Regions from separate parts of the Homo sapiens genome. Here region 2 is linked to region 1. The links are contacts of gene promoters, found by promoter capture Hi-C in blood cells and fetal thymus (Javierre and others, 2016). All regions are on one chromosome and are shown on one strand. Each heading gives the region's core, a stretch centred on a gene start or on the middle of the fragment in contact. The rest is flanking DNA. Distances are from core to core; before and after follow the strand shown.

The links. The method cuts DNA at HindIII sites, captures the fragments that hold promoters and counts their contacts. A CHiCAGO score of 5 or more calls a contact.
Region 2: the fragment with the promoter of TTC14 here is called in contact with the fragment with the promoter of LRRC58 in region 1 in 1 of 17 cell types (total B cells); the score reaches 11.5 in total B cells.

Annotation. Positions count from the first base shown.
Region 1 is chr3:120,347,237-120,351,477 of GRCh38, forward strand. LRRC58 (leucine rich repeat containing 58) reads right to left here and starts at 2,118. Exons shown (of 4, transcript NM_001099678.2): 1 at 1,508-2,118. The coding sequence starts at 2,007. It also overlaps the pseudogene BTNL12P. RefSeq lists an enhancer at 1,384-1,433 and a silencer at 1,784-2,113. The HindIII fragment of the contact is 1,696 bases long and covers 1,401-3,096 here.
Region 2 is chr3:180,600,183-180,603,962 of GRCh38, forward strand. It overlaps TTC14 (tetratricopeptide repeat domain 14), which reads left to right and starts at 1,981. Exons shown (of 12, transcript NM_133462.4): 1 at 1,981-2,240; 2 at 2,709-2,833; 3 at 2,942-3,141. The coding sequence starts at 2,080. TTC14-DT (TTC14 divergent transcript) reads right to left here and starts at 1,931. Exons shown (of 3, transcript NR_183700.1): 1 at 1,721-1,931. RefSeq lists an enhancer at 1,772-2,061. The HindIII fragment of the contact is 2,365 bases long and covers 1,637-3,780 here.

The sequences.
Region 1 (4,241 bases), core at 868-3,367:
TTGAAGAGTAAATGAAGAGACATCTTGCCCAAATGCTTCATTTGTAGATTAGAAAGCTACAGTTAGGATACGCTACAGTTAGGATACAAGTGACTTGCCTAAGGCTGGAGCACCAAGAGTTCTTTTTTCCCAGGCCAATATTCTTTTTTTTTTTTTTTTTTTTTTTGAGACAGAGTCTCGCTCTGTCGCCCAGGCCGGACTGCGGACTGCAGTGGCGCAATCTCGGCTCACTGCAAGCTCCGCTTCCCGGGTTCACGCCATTCTCCTGCCTCAGCCTCCCGAGTAGCTGGGACTACAGGCGCCCGCCACCGCGCCCGGCTAATTTTTTGTATTTTTAGTAGAGACGGGGTTTCACCTTGTTAGCCAGGATGGTCTCGATCTCCTGACCTCATGATCCACCTGCCTTGGCCTCCCAAAGTGCTGGGATTACAGGCGTGAGCCACCGCGCCCGGCCTTCCCAGGCCAATATTCTTTTGCTCCACTTAACTCTGAGGTCCCTTCTACCTTTAACGTTCTGTTATCTCTGAAAATACAATAAAGTGTGAAAATATCTTACAGATGGAAGATACCTCTTTTTCGTTTTGTACAATACATTTGGCTCTATTTCCCACTCCCCCACCGGGCACTTTTATTATCCTGTTTCTCTGCTTCCTCCTAAAGTTAAATTTAACATATTTACTGCATAATCTAGTAGGTGAAGCAGATAATTCCTGTAAACAAGGAATCATATCCAATAAGGTAAATGCAAAGGCAAGATGAATGAAGCACAGAGAAAGTACAGCATAGGCTGTACTTTTTTGTGCAGGGAGTAGTAACGAAAAAAATTGTTGTGCAGGGAGTAGTAAAAAAGGAATCACAGAGATGATTAACTTGAGATAGCTTTTGAAGGATGATAGGCGTTTGCCAGGTGAAGGAAACATTCCAAGCAAGGGAAACAGCACGTGTACAGAGGCACTGCATCCATTCAACACATACTGAGTGCCTACCAGCAACTCCAAGCTGCTTTCTCTACGTGGGAAAATGCATAGGTCACTGAACTCCACAAATGGTAGTTGGTACTGCCACAGAGAAGAGGAAGCTGCAAATGTAGTGGAAAGCAAGGGTTAGATCAGAGCACCTTGTACGCCACGCTCAAAGGCACGTACTTTGATCTATAGAGATGGAAATCCACGGAAGACTTTTGAGCAAAGAAGTGACAACCTCTGATTTACATCTGTTTTGAGTTTCCACTCAGTTTGGATCACGCCCCAGATTCAATAAGGAAGACAGAAAAAATGCCTCGAGAATCTGCATAGGCCAAACACAACACACCAAACAGTCACACATGCGAACATACTAGGTATTTACAACAACTTGCTGAGATGGTTGGGCAGAACTCACTACCGCACAGTTAAAGAGAAAGCTTGGAAATAGTTACGTGACAAACGTTGAGGTGCCCAGGCCCGGCGCCCCAGGGTTCCCGGACACCGCCCGAGGCCTCCCCACCCTCCGGCACACACCCGCTCACCTCTGCAAGTTCTCGATCTCAGCCGGGATGCTCTGCAGTTGGTTGCCGCCCAGGCTCAGGGTCTGCAGCGCGCGCAGCTCTAAGAGCGAGGCAGGCACCTCCTGGAAACAGTTGCCGCTGAGGTTGAGCACCTGGAGGCTGCGGCAGAGCGGCGACTGGGCCAGGCCCTTGGGCAGCGCACTGGGCCCGCCGAGCCGGTTGTTCTTGGCCAGCAGCGTGCGCAGGCCGCGCAGAGCGAGCAGCTCCGGCCCGAGCGCGGTCAACGCGTTGCCGCTCACGTCCAGCAGCTGGAGGTGCGGGAAGCCGCTGCCCAGCGCCCGTGGCAGCGACACCAGACGGTTGTGAGGCAGCAGCAGCCGCAGCAGCGCCTCCCGCGCCCCGCGCCGCTCCTCCCCCCGCGCCTCCAGCTCAGACTCCAGCGTCTCGGTGGACACGCTGAGGCGGGACCAGTTCAGTTCGGCCTCCCCGGCCGTGACCACCGCTGCTCCGGCCTCCTCCATCCTGGCCACCGCACGGCGCGTGGCGCCGGATTCCCCAGAGCGCCGCGCGCGGTCCAGAGGCCGGGAGCTCTGCGGCGCCCCGGAACCTGAACCGAGGGCTGAGTCGGAAGTGGCGCGGGCGGGCGCAAACCCTGCGCGCCTTGGCCGAGTCACGCGACGCGAGTCCTGGGGTGCGCGCGCCGCTCCGGGGCGGGCTCTGCCTCACGAGGCGCGGGGCGCGGAGTGGCAAGAGCGCAGCATGGGCTGCGCAGAACTGAGGCAGACACCCAGAGGCTGCCAAATTGTCATCTGAGCCGGACCGGGTTTCGGCGGCCGCGCTTTATAGTCGCTGGAGCCTGGTGACCTATTCCAGGGCTACAAGACTGCCTCGGCAAACAGCCCAAGGATGTTCGGTTATCTCGCCTTGAGGGTTCGCGCGTCACGTGCCCCCCCCGTCCCCCGCTTGTTTTTCAGTTTAAAAGTGGGGCCCGTGTCTGCAGGACTCTGTGAGCACACAGTAATTTAGTGGTGATTTAGCTCCATGACAGAAAACCGCAGGAATTTAAAGTCCGAGGATTAACAAAGCCGACCTCGAAATGTGAACGCAGCTGGACTAGACCTCAGAACCCCCGGACCCTTACTGGAGGTTCCGCTGTTAAATAGCCTAGGGCAGGGATTTGATTTCAGTTGCCCCATGCATAAAATATGGGTAACACCCGCACTACTTGCCCCACAGAATTATTTTTTTCTTTTTTAAGGCAGAAATGTGTATCAAGTAAGGACGTTTTGCCCGTTTTAATTGTAGAAGCACATACGTGGCTTTTGGTGTAAGTTGTGTCTAGGAGTGAATTTGGGAGATATGGAGGCGGTTGCATGATTTGAGATAGCTCAAATTAATGAGTTAGTTTAAAAACTCAAAGCATAGAGTTTGTACTGCAGGTCAAAACTACAGTTTGGGAAAATCCTGATCTGGTACTAATTTAGTAATTCTAATTAACGTATTTTTCATCCTTGTCCCAAACTCAATCTTTTCTGAAATTACATTTTATGATTTTGAAAAGTAATGAATAGAAATGAGAAAAAATGCTTAGCTTTTTTTTTTTTTAACAAAGCTTATACATAAGAAAGTTAAGTGGTCGTGTATAATCAACGACATTAAATTGCTTTCCTCCTTAAAAAAGGAAAGTCGTTTTTTTCTTGCCAGTCATTTATTTGTATGAGAAACTATGCCTTTACTCTGCAGTCAAACTTTAATTTCTGATTGAGTGGTAGTCCTAGAAGGACGTACTTTGTATGTTTAAGCTAATGGTGGAATGCTTTTTAAAACTGATGAGTCATCTGTTTTGAAAGAGTCCTTTTAAGAACAGACCTTATTTTGGGTCAAGCCAGCATTCTAACAGTAGTCCTAATATCTGAAAATAACAAATATTTAAAATAATAGTTGTTTTTGCTTTAAAATATTTATCTTGGATTTTAAAAAGTGATAGGAACGTAATGTAAAATGAGAAAAAGAAAGGATTCAAACATAATTCAGAAATAAGAGTTGGCCAGGTGCCATGGCTCATGCCTGTAATCCCAGTGCTTTGGCCCAGGCCAGCAGATCGCTGAGGTCAGGAGTTCCAGACCAGCCTGGCCAACATGGGGAAACCCCGTCTCTACAAAAAATACAAAAATTAGCCGGGCCTAGTGGCGCTCGCCTGTGGTGCCAACTACTACACAGGCTGCTGGGAGGATTGTTTCAGCCTAAGAGGTAGAGGTTGCAGAGAGCCATGATTGTGCCACTGCCCTGCACTTTTTTTTTTTTTTGTCTCAAGAAAAATAAAATAAGAGGTAAGATTACAAATCAGTGGAATTAAAGGGAAAAAGATAACCTCAATAATAGCAAATGAGGCTTCCTAGTAGAAAGTTTGGAAAAAAATACTTAGTATGGGAACTCCACATTATATAGAATAAAGGAAAGGAAGTAGAAAAAAAGTGGTGTAGGTAAAGAAATGAGTAACCTGACAAATTTTGAAAACCTACTGCTTGCAACGCTGTACTAGGAGCTTTTAATTTAATAAAGTCTCCAACTATTTGGTTGTTGAATTTAGGATAAATGTAACCAGACCATTGAGCAGCTAAGATAACTGAGAAACTGCTTTCTAAAAGTTGAAAACTGTGTTTCTGCCTCATTGAAGCTATTGGCAAGGAAACTGTAAATTTCAGTGTAAAATGCACATCTCATGTCCAATTAGAGTAGGTTCCTACTTACATAG
Region 2 (3,780 bases), core at 731-3,230, about 60 Mb after region 1:
GCCATTTCAGATGTTCAAGGTATGAGGTGGGGGAGGGTTATCCTAGTGTTGGAATTAGGAAGAAGTATAGACAGATCCCATAGTGATAAAACCATGTGCTACTGAAGAATGGCCTCAGAAGGTGACATTCCCAGGCTAAGTAACACTATTTGGTGTCTGGTTCTCAGACACCGGTTTCTTAGTCCCTCCAAAAAATGAGGTCCTTGATCACAGATTGACTCTAACACAAATCACATACTTATCAAGATGTCTATAATAATTTTTAGTGGTCAGCTTTCCTTTTCAGTGACAGCACTCTTTCCTAAAAACAACCATTCTCTAGAGTTATGGCTTAAAACAAGTCAGTCTGTACCATTTATTAAAGTTGATATGCCTATAGAAGCTTGAAATTTATTTATTTATTTATTTATTGAGACGGAGTCTCCCTCCGGCGCCCAAGCTGGACTGCCGTGGCGCGATCTCAGTTCATTACAACCCCCGCCTCCGGAGTTCAAGAGATTCTCGTGCCTCAGCCTCCCGAGTAGCTGGGACTACAGGCATGAGCCACCACGCTCGGCTAATTTTTGTATTTTTAGTAGAGACGGGGTTAGGCCATGGTGGCCAAGCTGGTCTCTGAACTCCTGACCTCAAGTGATCCACCCTCGGCCTCCCAAAGTACTGGGATTACAGGTGTGAGCCACCGTGCCTAACCCAAATTTATCTTTTACAGTTGCATTCTTGTTTGTTGCATTTTCTCAAGTCTCAAACTGTTTACCTATTTGCCTGGGTTTTCCACAAAACAGTGTGGCAGTATCGATTATGTTCTGGGCTAGATCTCCTATACAAAAGTGGTAACACAGTGAAAGGCAAGTTGATTTCCTCAAAGACACATGGTGGGAAGTGGAGAGACTAACTGTCACCGTTTATTTCTGTTCAAGAGGACTATACTGAACTATTTACACTGAACATATTTAAATGGTACAAATTTTATACTGGAATAAAACGAAGCTACATGATCTCAAAATTAGGGTTAGTTAGACCTTCCATATGATAAAATACTCAATCCAGCAACTCTGCCTGAGAAGACCAATTAATACTTCGTTTGGAATCCTAACTCTAGCCTCTTACTAGCTGTGTGCCATTGAGCAATTTACTGGGACTCTCTGAGCATGTTTCCTCGTTTTCTAAAATGAAAAAGTACAATAGCTACCATAGTGGTTAGGTTCTCAAGTCAGTAAGTAAGGGGATGGGGGACCTAAGTTGAAATTCCCTTTGAAAATCACTTGAATTGTCCATAAGAACAGTATATTGACTTTTGCGTACATACCACTATACAGTAAGTCCCACAGACACTAAATTTTGAGCAACCATTGAGATAAACTAAATAAGAAATGCATGTGTTCATTAGTTATTGTAAAACTTGAATGGCATATGCACGTGTGGAGACATTAAAGCCATCCTGGTTTTAGAATTCACAATCACTAACAGTAAATGGGGTATGGATGGAGAACACCACTCCAGGTGCTTAACAAATGTCCGTGTCCTTCCTTTCTTCTGCCCTTAAAACCACCTGGAAACCTTCCCGGAGCAGCCGGTTGAATGGGGTTACGCCAGAGACACAGGTATTGATTTACGCAGAGAGTACGTCGAGGGAAGAAGCTTGGAGACTCGTATAGGGTTCTTACCCTGGCACTGGCACTTAGAAGCACCTTGATGAATACGAAAAGGAATTATTATTTACCCTAGGTTACAGCTCGAGCTATTTCGACGTAATAACGATCCCACGTACACTTTAAAAAGCAAACTTCTCACATACATCACTTCCTGGAAGCCCTAGTCAGCCTTTAGCCCAAGCAATGCTGAGCCCAATCCTTCGGCCTTCCGTAGTCTCGCTCGGTTTCGCGAGATCGAGGCTGAGCTCCGCCGCGCCGCCGTGGGGGCGACCCCAGAACACTTCCGGGTGTAACTGGTTGTGCTGTCTGTGTACTTCCGGCAGCCTCCAGACAGTTTCTTCCGCTTCCTGTACCACCCGGCTCAAGTAGCGGACACGGAACAGGGAACTATCAGCCCGTCGGCCTCCGGGCCCTGCATTCTCTAGCCATGGACCGGGACCTTTTGCGGCAGTCGCTAAATTGCCACGGGTCGTCTTTGCTCTCTCTACTTCGGAGCGAACAGCAGGACAATCCACACTTCCGTAGCCTCCTGGGGTCGGCCGCCGAGCCAGCCCGGGGCCCGCCGCCCCAGCACCCGTTGCAGGGCAGGTAATGAGACGTTGGTGCCACTGCGCCACGGAAGAGGGGACGCAGCTCTGGCAGCCACTACCGCAGCCCCGGGTTTGCGTCTAGAGGAAGTGGAGCCGCGGCCGTGAGCACAGGACGATCGCGCGCTGGTGTCTTGGGCTGGGTGGACGGGGGGCGCTCCTGGGTTGTGCAATGCGGGATGCGGGCTGAACTTTTTCTCTGGCACTGCTTGGTAGAGGCGCAGATTCCTTAGCTAAAAATCCCTTGAGCTTTCCTATCTGAGTTGGAGGCGTCACTTTTTAAGTTTCCCCGCTCTCCACCTCCAGGTTGGTTAATGAGGGAATGCCTAGTTAAAACTTTTTGTCTGAGGTTGTATTGTCTGCAGCTTAGGATGGAGCGGAATGGGCGATGAAAGCCATAAGCAGAAGGTTAGAAGTAAAGAGGCTTTGCAGATAACCCAATTTTCATATATATTTTTTTCTTTTTAAGAAAAGAGAAGAGAGTTGACAACATCGAGATACAGAAATTCATCTCCAAAAAAGCGGATCTGCTTTTTGCACTTTCCTGGAAATCAGATGCACCTGCAACTTCTGAAATTAATGAAGACAGTGAAGGTCAGTTTAGCCTTAAAATCTTTAAGATTGCGGTTCGGTTTAACAGTACTTCAGGTGAAACGGAACTCAAAACTATCGTTAGTGATTTTGTTAATTTTTTTTTTTTAGATCATTATGCAATCATGCCACCTTTAGAGCAATTCATGGAGATACCTAGTATGGATCGGAGAGAGCTGTTTTTCCGAGATATTGAGCGTGGTGATATAGTGATTGGAAGAATTAGTTCTATTCGGGAATTCGGTTTTTTCATGGTGTTGATCTGTTTAGGAAGTGGTATCATGAGAGATATAGCCCACTTAGAAATCACAGTAAGTTATTTTTGTTACTTGGATTGCTTCTGTTTTTGTTAACGCATCTCAATGCAAGAACTATATCTTTGCATGCAGTTGTGCTCAAGTATACCTGCCAAGATGCTTTTGGAAATTAAATGTTAATTGGAGAAAAATAGTTTAAAAAAATTAGTGTAAGTTACCCAGTTTCTCCCTCCATTTCTGGTTTTTGGGATTTTTTAAATTTAAACTGGTTGGCAGGCACAGTGTTCTTTTCTAAATGCTCAAAGAGGTATCAGTGGACGTGGTGAGGTTGATTGATATTCAGACTTATTTCTTGTAGTTGAACATATGTATTCTTAATTAGTTAATATTTGGCATTGTATATTTTCATGTGGATAATTTGGAGAGAAGTTTCATTTATATATTTACAATAATTAAATGTAAGTGGTTTGTACATTATATTAAGATACTTTGCCCAAGATGGATAGTCCTGAATTTAAACTAATGTGTCACGATAAAAGATTGGGTATTTGCCATCTATCCAGGCAGATAAAAAGGAAGAAAAGCAGAAGGTATTACAGATTGGATAACAGACAAAATACTTTGGAGAATTGGCATTTCATTTTCACTGGAATCCTTATACCTTTTAGACAAATTTTAGTTTGTTTTTGATGC